Linked DNA regions of Homo sapiens: region 2 is linked to region 1. The links are contacts of gene promoters, found by promoter capture Hi-C in human tissues and cell types (Jung and others, 2019). All regions are on one chromosome and are shown on one strand. The core of a region is centred on a gene start or on the middle of the fragment in contact, and the rest is flanking DNA. Distances in the headings are between cores, read along the strand shown. Region 1 holds the start of MXD4 (MAX dimerization protein 4). Region 2 overlaps RNF4 (ring finger protein 4).

Region 1 (5,594 bases), core at 2,937-5,436:
CCTCAGTAAAAGGGTGGGCCAGGTGTCGGGCTCATGTGGGGAACTGGGGGGTCACTTACCTGTGCTTTTCTAGCTCGTTGTGTGAAGACCTGTTTAGAAAGACAGAAAGACAGAGCTCACTCTTCTGCCTGCCCACCAGGGCACAGAGAGCAGTGCTCTCCTAGGGGGCCAGGACCTGCAGACAGTGGCTGGCTGTGTCTGGGTCCTGGAATGGCCCAGAGCAGTGAGGCCTGGGGCAGGTGAGCAGTTGCCCACCCAGGGTGGGGGGAACCACATGCTAAGGGTGGGCGCTGGTTGTCAGCTTTGGGTACTCCGTGCCGGGGGAGCCGCAGCTCACGCCCTGGAGTTCTCCATGGGTCAGGGACTTGGTTTGGTGAGAAGCAGCAGCAGGGGCCAGCCTTGCTTACAGGGAGGCCCAGAGCTGCAGGCAGGTCCAGGGCGCCCAGGGCCACCAGCCCACCTAGCAAGGCCCGTGGTGAATCTGGCTGACAGGAGGACCTAGGCCCCCTTCCAGAGGGATGGGGGAGGCCCAGGGAGCAGCAACAGGTCCTGGCGCTGACCCCCACCAGCCACCTGCCTTCCCTGCTCCCCAATCCCTGAGGCCAGCTGTGTCCTTGGAGCCAAAGCAGCCTAGCACCCGGGACAAACAGCAGGTGGAGATGGAGCCCAGAGACCAGGCCCTCAGGACACAGGTGGTCCTGTCCTGACACCACCACTCTCTCGGGCTCACACACCTGCGTGACCACAGCCCACCTTACCAATGGGGACCAGGGACACAGCAGCGTCAGCCAGGTCAGCCCATGAGGGGGCTTCTGAGATGTGGATGCTTCCCAGGCCAGTAGGCACAGGGGGACACTGAGGCCAGCCCTCCCACTTCCCTCAGGGGCTGTGCTAGCAGGATGGGCTGCCCTGGAGGCCCGGGCTCAGCTTCTCTGGGGACAGTGGCCCCACCTGCTGCTCACCTGTCTTGCCCATTCAGACGCGGGCACACAATTCCCAGCACCACAGGGTGTGCCACAGCATCTGCCTGGAGGATAACGAGGCAGGGGGACCTCGCTCCCAGCTCCAGGCCACCTTCCGTGTCCAGGCAGGACCCCACAGGCCAGCCAGGGCTCCCGGGCCTCCCAGGATGCCGCTGCACAGGTGGGCAGAGAGCTCAGACTGCCTCGGGGCACCTCCAGACCCAGCCCTGAGGCCTCTCCCTGCCCTCAGGACCTGGCTCCTTCCTGAAGCTTCTTGCTGACCACTGCCTGCTTCAGGAACTTGGGATCTGGCGTCTCCTGTCCCAACCACTCAGGCCAAGGGCCTGCCCCTCCCACCCGCTGCACCAACAGGCCCTGGGCCTCCTTGTGTAGCCTCAGCAGAGCCTCCAGACCCAGGTCTCAGGGTCCGGGAGGGCCTGTTGGTCACATGGGCTGGACAAGGAGCCTCCGAATCACTGCCAGGGCCAGCCAGGGCCGACCAGGGCCAGCAGAGGCCACAGCCATATGCTCCTCACTGGCCTCACAGAGATAGGCCCCTACGCCAGCGTTTCTGCTTCCCCAGAATAGGCAGGCCGCAGGAATGAGCCGTACTCTCTGTCCTCAGCCCAAACTGCAGCCTGGCCACGTGGGTCTGTAGTCAAGAGGGAGGTCGGGGTCAGCAGGTGCCCTTCAACATAAAAGCCTACCTGCCTACCCCTTGAAGGGTGGCACGGGGCTGGACCCCACCCTGGAGGCAGGGGGCCCTCCTCCAGCAGCCAGGGCCCCTCTTGCAGCTCCTCCTGGGCCCAGAGACCCTTGGGGTCCATCGAGGGGGATGTTTGCAACATGGGTCCCAGGAGCACTCTATCCCTCAGGAGAGGTGGGACCTGTCCCCGCTGAGGCCAGGCCAAGTGCGTTCCCAGCATTCCCGTGACCCCAGGAGACAAGCACACTTCCCACAGAATGGACCCCCCTGCAGGCTGGCCCCAGTGCTCTGCCGCCTCCCTCAACCCTGACACTGTCCTCCGGCCCCACTCCCTACCCTTGCCCCAGCCTCACTGTGCCATGTCCCCTCCCTCACCTTGGCAGAGCATGGAAGCCTCACAGGTGGGGACAAGTCAGGGGCTCAGAGATCCTCTGGCCCCCTGCTCCGCCCAGCTACTTGTCTGGGCTGGCTGAGGAAACCTCCAGGGCAGTGCTGCCCACCCGAGGAAGGGGCCAAGCCGCCAGCCCTGGGCTGCCTCAGGCCCCGGGGGAGCGGGGCTCGGCCCAGAGGAGCCAGGGGAGATGCACCAGAGTTGGGGAGCCCTCTGTCTCCCTCACCAGTGCCCCCATGGTCTCTGTCCCAGCAGAATGTGGACAGCTGGGACCCCATCTCAGGAACAGGCGTCATCAGAGATGGGTGAGTGGCAGGCAAGTAACCAAACCTCTCCTTGCCTCAGTTTCCTTGGCCATAGAGATAAAAATCACATCACCTCTCTGAGCCTGGGGTGAAGATGAACTGGCTGCATGTGTGAAACGCTCAGCATAGAGGCAGTGTTCGGGCAGCCTTGGCCAGGACGCTGGTTGTCAGCTTTGGATTCTCCATGCTGGGGGAGCCCCAGCTCACGCCCCAGAGTTCTCCACGGGTCAGGGACTTGGTTTGGAGAGAAGCGGCAGCGGGGGCCGGGCTTGCTCACTGAGGAGGCCTGAGGCAATGGTTCCCTCGTCACACTCCTGTCCTTCCCCAAACTGTCCCCAGTAGGGGACCAGGGGCTGGGACTCAGGGACGGGTCCCAGCCAGGGCAGCTGGAGACTCAACCAATTCCTCGCCTGGCTCAGGATGCCACAGAAATGGGTCCCTACACCAGCCTTTCGGATTCCCTAGAACAGGTGGACCACAGGAATGAGCCATGCCCTGGGGCTCTGAAGCCCCCTACAAACGCAGCTCCCAGCCTGCTCACACAAAAGGGCTGGGCCAAGGTGGGCCCAGACAGGACCAGGTGTGCTATGGTCCTCACAGCAGCCAGGAGGGTGGAAATCCCCGGGGAGCCCCGGCCCAGGGTCCCCACTCCCCACGCGGGGGACCTGTACGCACCCCAGCTTCAGGGCTTCTGCTGCCTGAACACGAGGTCAAGGTATGGAGGGCGCAGCTGGCACCCGTAGTAACGACTTCATGGGGCCCCTGCCCTGCAGCCTGCCCCCTCCTCCCGCCCCCTTAAAAGGCCTCTGTCTTAAAAAAGAGGACCCCCATACTGGTGGCTGGAGTTTCGCTGTGTCAGGAGGCTGGGCAGAAGCGGTGGGCACCCTGGGAGGAGTGAGGGCCCAGGACAGCGCCTCCACTCGCTTCTCTGTCTAGGCTCCTGGGGGCGGGGGAAGGTGGCCGAGCAGCAGAGTTCGGCTGGCAGAGCCAGTCGAAAGGAGGCCGCCCACCCACCCGCGGAGAGAAGGGGTTAGGGCCGGCAGCCCCCGCAGACCCTGGCTGAGCCTGTTTCCCCAGACCCACGGGGCACCGGCCAGCGCCCGCTGACAACTTTTCTACCGCCTGGAAAAGTCCAGAACAACTCGGGGGCGGGGAGCGGGCGCGGGAGCGGACCCCGGCGGCGGGCGCTGTACGCGTGGCACTGTTTACGCGAGCGGCCCGGGAGGCGCGGCCGCGGGAAGATGGCGACGGCGAGGGCGGGGCCGGCCGGGCGGGGCTGCGGCCGCGGCCTGCGCGCCTCCTCCTCCAGGCTGGCCGCCGGGGCGCGCGGCGGCGGCGCTGAGGGCCGCGGGCCGGGAATCGGGGCCCGGAGAGCACGCTCCGGGCGGGGGCGGGGGTTCGGACCGGGCCGGGCGGGGTCGGGAGCGGGGGGCGGTACCTGTTGTTCGGGGCCTTGCGCACCAGGCCGGCCGCCTTTGTTTTCTCCCTGGCGAAGTCGCCGTCGAAGGGCAGCACCGAGGCGTAGCCGTGCTCGGCCTCTGCGGACACACGGCGCGGTCAGCGGCCCCCGCCCGGCACGGCCCCGCCGCCCGCCCACCGCCGCGGGCGCACAATGGGGTGCGAGCGCTACCTCGATCCCTGCGCTCCAGGTACTCGGCCGCCTCCAGCAGGATCAGCAGGGAGTTCAGCTCCATCCTCCCGCCCGCGCCCGTCCGCCCCGGGACGGCGGCGGCCGCTGCCCGGCCCGCTCCGGCCGGCTCCGCTCGCCGCCCACCCCGCGCGCCCGGCCGCCGCACTTCCAGACTCCGCGGACTCCGGCGCTCGGCCGCCACCCTCCGCCTCAGGCCCTCAAATTGACACATAAGGGAGAGCGGCGGCCCGCAGAGCCAATGGGAGGCGGCGTTCGCGCCCCGGGGGCGGGCGCCGGGCCGGGCTGGGGCCAATGGGGACGGGTCGAGCGCCTCGGGCCGGGCCGAGAATGTTGACAGATGCAGAGCTGGGCTGGGATAGGCCGGCCGCGCTAGTAACAATTTAGAAGCCCGAGCTTAGCAACAGCACGTGGTGGCCCGGCCCCCGCGCTAGCTGACTGGCGGCCGCCGTGCATGTTAAGTAGGCGCCGCGCGCCGATTGGCCAGAGCGGCCTATGTAAAACAGGCACTGCGAGCCAATGGCCGGTGGCGGGGCGCGCGGCCAATGAGGGCGCCGCAGCCGGACGCGTTGCCGAGAGGAAGCGCAGCGCGCGGGGACCGCCCGCCGTCCTGGGGGCCCGTTAGGACGCAGGAGCGTCTCCGCTACGAGAGCGAAGCAGGGCGCTCCGGGGCGTGCGCCGGGCCGGGCCGGGCCGCCGGGTCTGAGCGCGACGAAAGCAGTGGCTGCGTGGGGGGACGAGGCCTCGCGCTCTGCCCGGGGGTCTTGCGTGGGGCCGTGAACGACTCCCCTCCCCGCCGGGCGCAGAGTGGCCCCGGGAAGGGCCGGGACCTCGGAGAGGGACGCAGACGCTCTGATCCTAAGAGCCAGGCGTCTCTGAGGGTGTCAGTGGGGAAACAGGCCCAGAGCGGGCGGGCTCCTCAGATCGCCCAGTGGACGCCGGAGCTGAGGGAGGGCCCAGGTCTGGGGAAGGGACACAGACGTGCGGCCAGAGTCGAGAGGCTCCCCGGAGTGGGGGGCTGCATGCTCTGTGTCTGGCCTGAGGGGCAGGGACGTTCCTAGAGGCAGGCGCTGGCCACCTCTGGCCGAGGACGCCCTAAGTGGGGACGGGAGTGAACCCTTCATCAAATCCCAGCTGGCGGGTCTCCCTAGTGACCCCTGACCCTAAGGCTGGCCCAGACTGGCCTCGGCACCCCCCACCCTCTCGCAGATTTTTTTTTTTTTTTTTTTTGAGACGGCTCTGTTGCCCAGGCTGGAATGCAGTGGCGTGATGTCAGTTCACTGCAACCTCCGCCTCCCGGGTTCAAGCGATTCCCCTGCCTCAGCCTCCCAAGTAGCTGGGACTACAGGCGCGTGCCACCACGCCCAGCTAATTTTTGTATTTTTAGTAGAGATGGGGTTTCACCATGGATGGTCTGGATCTCCTGACCTCGTGATCCGCCCGCCTCGGCCTCCCAAAGTTCTGGGATTACAGGTGTGAGCCACCTCGCCCGACCCATCTCACTGATTTGATTTTTGAGGTTGGTGGCCTGGATGTGCCAAGGGCCAGGCCCCGCAGGCTGGAGAGTGTGGAGGCATAAGGT
Region 2 (5,499 bases), core at 2,609-5,108, 220 kb after region 1:
CTTTCTAGGTAAAGTGTTGAAGGAGAGTTGAAGAGGGCCTAGATTAGGGCTTCTGGGTGCTGGATTTCTCCACCAAGATGCAAGCCCCTAGAGAGTTGAGTTTGGCTAGCCCTTTGGTGACAGCTTGTATTGTCCCTTAGCCCACAGATGCATCTGACTAAGAGTAGAAGAACATGTCTCTCTTTAGGAGCCCGGAGCCAGAGACAGTGCTGTTTGAGATTAGGCCCCCTCTGGTGTGCCCTTCGAGAATTCCCATTGTGGGGCACTGCTCAGTTGCTCCCATCTGGTATGGGTCAAATAATCAGATTTGTGAGTGTCTCACAACCATCCCTGTACCCCAGCCAACCCTGGGTTCTGAATACAGTAGAGGCAGCTAAGCTGCTAGCTGGTCTCCAGCAGGCTCTGTGCTCAGTGGCCATCAACACCAGGTAGCTTGGCAAGCCTGCCTCCTGTGCTGACTGTGGGCCCTGGGGAAGTGTCGAGGATGTTGACGGCCTCTAGCATCTGAGGTACATCTGCCCCTCGGCCTCCGGAGGAGTGGATCCTTAGGTTTCCTTCATTATCTTACCCTTTCTCCTGGCTCCCAGAAATTACCTTGTTTTTATATGAGGCCCCAAAGCCTAGGCCATCTTGGCTGATAGATGTGAAAGCCCTTTGCTCCTTTCAGGCCCCTGGGGATTTTGGTTGTAGCCTGATTGCTGGTGGCAGCTTAATCGGGGCCATAAGATAATTTTATGGAAGACCTGGTTACTTGGCATCTGAACAAGCCTCATTGCCTCTCTGAGCATAGTCTGCTGCTTTCTGCTTTGATCAAATTCATTCCTCTTGTCCCTGCAAACCTTCAGGGGAGGCCAATGTTCAAGGCCCCTGAGCCTTAGGAATAAATAACTCTGGGTGAGAACTGCCTGTCATTGGCTGTGTGCCGGCTTTCTTCAACCTCCTCTGAGTCCTGTTCTAAGTCTAAGCCGTTGTGATTAGCTACATCCTGCCAAGTCTGTTCTGGAAATGAATAAAGCCCTTGCTGAGAGCCGGAAACATTGGTTCCAGTTCCTCCTGGGGTGAAGGTTTGTTTTGCCTTTATTTAATAGCACTCATACCTGTAAGAAGGGACATGCTCTCCAGCCCTTCTGATATAATACCTATTTATTACTTGATTTGTTGATCATCTTTCCAGCTAGGATATATGCTCCATGGGTAGTTTTTTGTTGCTGTTTCCCATCCCATTCCTAGCCCCTGGAGCAGTGCCTTACCCAGACTAGGCACCTGTGAATAGTTAGCAAATTAGTTGATAGAGCTGCCTTCTGGGTGCTAGGAACCATACTGGGTGTTTCATTCAGCGGTCACTGGTTCCACAGAGGTGAGGTGTTCTACTCAATTAAAGATGTGGACACTGAGGCACAGAAGGCAAGTATTTGTCCAAGGCTGTAGGGCTTATTGGCCAGCCACATCATTGCTGACCGCTTAACCACATACCCTCATTTGTATAATGAGCAAGAGGCTCATATTTCTTCTGAGTATTAAGGTGTGGTTATTGATATGACTGAGGGTATCAAAGTTCTGTTTAAGAGGTGTTTGTGAACAGGTGCGGTGGCTCACACCTATAATCCCAGCACTTTGGGAAGTCAAGGTGGGCAGATCACTTGAGGTCAGGAGTTGGAGACCAGCCTGGCCAACATGGCAAAGCCCCATCTCTACTAAAAATACAAAAATTAGCCGGGCATGGTGGTGGGTTCCTGTAATCCCAGCTAGTTGGGAGGCTGAGGCACAAGAATTGCTTGAACCTGGGAGGTGGAGGCTGCAGTCAGCCAAGATCACACCACTGCACTCCAGCCTGGGTGACAGAACAAGACTGTGTCTCAAAAAAAAATTATTTGTTTTTATTGATTTTTATTTATTTATTTATTTTGAGACTGAGTTTCACTTGTTGCGCAGGCTGGAGTGCAATGGTGCGATCTCGGCTCACCTCCACCTCTTGGGTTCGAGCGATTCTCCTGCCTCAGGTTCCCGAGTAGCTGGGATTACAGGCGCCCACCACCACACCCAGCTAATTGTTGTATTTTTAGTAGGGGGTGGGTTTCACCATATTGTTCAGGCTGGTCTCGAACTCCTGGCCTCAGGTGATCCCCCCCCGCCTCGGCCTCCCAAAGTGCTGGGATTACAGGTGTGAGCCACCATGCCTGACCCAGGTCTCTTATTTTCAGTGGGTAATTGTATCAGACTCTGCCTCCCAGGTGGGGTTTGAGGGTTCTGTGTACCTGGTGTAGGCCTAGGCTAAACAGAAGAGCTTCTCGTTAGAGCATCTCCCTGTGGACTGGCTGCAGAGTTACGATATCATTCTGGTTCTGCTGTGCTCCCCACTGCCCCTTTTCAGCTGACTCTTTGCTCATAGGAATACAGTGGTATGAGATAGGGTCATAGAATTTGGTTCCAGTCTAACACTCTTCCTGTTTCCTGCCCGCCTGTATGTCTCTATCCATTAGCAGACTCCTTTATGTATGATAGAGACACATGCACATATGCATACACGGACAGTCCCTGACTTACAGTGTTTCATTTAGAATTTTTCAACTTATGATTTATTGGGAGTTAGCCCCATTGTACGTCAAGGAGCATCTGCACATCGTATACATATATACCATGAATACACATAATTATATGTCACACTCCTGCTAGAGTGGGGGGGGTCAATATCTGAAGTGCTTATAATAGCTTTATTGGGGGGGACCTCTAAGAAAAACAGAATAATTACTTAGACCTTAAATAATAAATCTATAAGAATGAAGAAAGCCCCAAAGCCCTTCCAGCTTCCATCCCGTCAGTCACCTCTCTGTCCTATACTCTGCCACTACCCCGAGCCTCATGGCTTTCTTCTCACCTGGGCTACCCTGAGTCTCCTCCTTGGTCTACAGTCTGACTTGTTCAGTCTCCCATCTGTTCTCACCAGACACAGGTGACATGGTCTCTAAATGCAGATCTCAACATGTCATCTCTGTCCCAAAACCCTCGATGGCCCTGTCCTGAGGGTGTAGTCAGTGAGGCTTGTTAGGAACCCTCGGCACCTTTGTTGTCCTCCACACAGTGCTCGTGTGGGACATCCCTGCTCCCTTCCGCCCACCCCACCCACATACATTGTTTCTTAATTAACTCCTCCTGTCACTTGAGGCCCCATTCAGCACTGCTTCCTCTAGACAGCCCGGCTTGATCCTCAGCGCGTTTGGGCTGGGACTGCGACTCCTTTGCTGCTGCTTCCACTTGCTTAGGTCACCAGCGTCCCACTTCCGTGTTTGAGCTCACTGGCCGCCTTTCAGTTCCCCAGCCTGTGCATTGCAGCTGTTCACTGCTTCCTCCTCCTTGAAGAAGGAGGTTTTGTCTGAGTGACGGCTCCAGGTTCTCCTAGCTTTGTTTCTTTTAAATTCTCTTTTACAGATTCTATCTACCTGCCTCCCCAAGTTTTCACACATTCTGAAATCTCTACGTCCATCCGAGTTCTCACTCTTGAGTTTCCAGCTACCTTGGGCCCTTTCTCCCTGGGTGTCTCACACCCTGCTTTTCTAAAACTACACTCAGCACCTGTTTCTGTTCTCCCTTCCCTCATTGGGTTTTATGGCCTCATTCTTGCAGAGTAAGAAGCTAGATACCTTGGCGTGAGTTGTTTCTCCTTTCACCTTGGAAGCTTTAGGAATACCTAGCATCCGGCTCTCCTGACCATCCCCAGTTAGGAATGACCACTTCTCTACCCCAGCTCCTCTTTTCTCAGTGGCAGGGGCGCCATCAACACCCCACTCTTACCCTCATTTATTCCTTCAATAAATATGAGCATCTGCTTTGTGTAAGGTCTTAGCTAGGTAGAAAGTAAATAGAGCCTTGTCCTCGTAGCGCTTACCTAAGTGAGAGCATACTGGACGAGAGACTGGAGGATGGTGGGGCCCTTTCTTGAAATGGAGTATATGTTGGCGGAAGGAGGAGGCAAGGGTTCCTTTTGGAACACACTAAATTTGAGAAATCTGAAAAATCACCGTCAGTGTTCCCGCTAGTTTCTGGAATTGATGTATTTGATTCTGGCACTAACATACCTATTTGAGGGTGTGGGTCTTGGTATCAGACTGCCCTGGTTTAAGTCTAGGCTCTGTTTACTAGGTGTGGATGACTTTGGGGAAGTTCCTTAACTTTAATCCTTAGCTGCTTCATGGGTAAAATGGGGAACATAACAGTGCTTATTTCCTTACTGGGTGATGTGAGGAGCACATGTGGTGATATTAATATTTAGGAAGCGCAGTGCCTTGTGCAGATGCAGAGAAGGCACCTCTCAGCTGTTGTTAGTTTTCTTATTCCATTGGACTCTCACCTGCATGATCCAGAACCCTTTGTAGTTGGTGAGGGCTACTTTCCCATGACCGCTAAGGTCTCCATTCACTCTGCATTTCTACGTCCCCACCACGCTGGGATGCTCTGCTGGAAATGCTCCTGTCTCACCTCAGTGCCCTGGTGAAATCCAGCCTCTTGGTGGCTTATCCCCAAGACCAGCCTTCCAAATTCCTTTGAACTCTGACTCCTGACCCTTACTAAACCCAAAAGAGAGAGAAAAACCAGATTTGGGGTGAATTGCTGTATGGGCCAGGGCATGGAGAATGAGGGGGCTCCAGAAAGCTTCCCAGGGAAGTAGTAATGGTCTAGCTGGGCCTGCAGGGATGCAGGAGGCTGGTTTCAGAGTGGTGAGGGGTGTGCAGGCCAGGACAGCCACAAGGCACATCTTCAGCAGCCGTATTTGGAAGCCTCAATATCAGTGAAGTGGGAGGAGAGAGGCTTAGGAACAGCCTGGGTGTGGACATCAGGTGTTTCCCTTTGCTCTGCAGGCTGATTTCTCTGTCTTCCTTTGTCAGTAGCTTCTCTTTTCTAAATTCTAAGACACGCTATTGATGTGGCGGGGAGAACAAGCCCCTATATGATAGATGTGCACCCAAATGTAAGATATTTCTTGAGATCAGAAACATTCGTGGATATGAGAACCCAGGACATGTGGTGGATCTGGGACTGTCGTGTGGTCTGAATGATCTTGTGAGTCCTAAGGTGATGTCGAGGCACCTCCCACCTCTGTTGAAACCAACTAGACAAGTCTTTTCCTAGCCAGAGCCTCTTCCCTGAATGTCTGTTTAAAGTTGAACACTTACCAGGTGAGGTGTTGCTTTGAGAAGCATTTGTGCTCCGGGCTGGAGTGCAATGGTGCAGTCATGGCTCACTGCAGTCTTGACCTCCTGGGCTCAGGTGATCCTCCTGTCTCAGCCCCTGGAGTAGCTGGGACTACAAGTGTGCACCGTCACATCTGGCTATTTTTTTAATGTGTTTTTATTTTTATTTTTTGAGACAGAGTCTCTCTCTGTTGGCCAGGCTGGAGTGCAGTGGTGCCATCTTGGCTCATTGCAACCTCCGCCTCCCGGGTTCAAGTGATTCTTGTGCCTTAGCCTCCTACGTAGCTGGGATTATAGGCGCACACCACCACAC

The links. Contacts are between HindIII fragments. The study calls those that stand out against the background at their distance.
Region 2: a fragment that was not itself captured here is called in contact with the fragment with the promoter of MXD4 in region 1 in 3 of the 25 tissues and cell types used here (dorsolateral prefrontal cortex, lymphoblastoid cells and spleen).

What each region holds. Positions count from the first base shown.
Region 1 is chr4:2,257,923-2,263,516 of GRCh38, forward strand. MXD4 (MAX dimerization protein 4) reads right to left here and starts at 4,187. Exons shown (of 6, transcript NM_006454.3): 1 at 3,995-4,187; 2 at 3,803-3,902; 3 at 60-89. The coding sequence starts at 4,058. RefSeq lists enhancers at 2,714-3,306, 4,538-5,199, 5,200-5,594 and silencers at 3,407-3,466, 3,477-3,866, 3,957-4,016, 4,067-4,906. The HindIII fragment of the contact is 28,165 bases long and covers 1-5,594 here.
Region 2 is chr4:2,481,946-2,487,444 of GRCh38, forward strand. All of the region lies in intron 1 of RNF4 (ring finger protein 4), which reads left to right. Among named protein-coding and RNA genes, the nearest start is that of RNF4, 16 kb to the left of the region's middle. RefSeq lists enhancers at 3,340-3,619, 4,123-4,624. The HindIII fragment of the contact is 4,796 bases long and covers 1,461-5,499 here.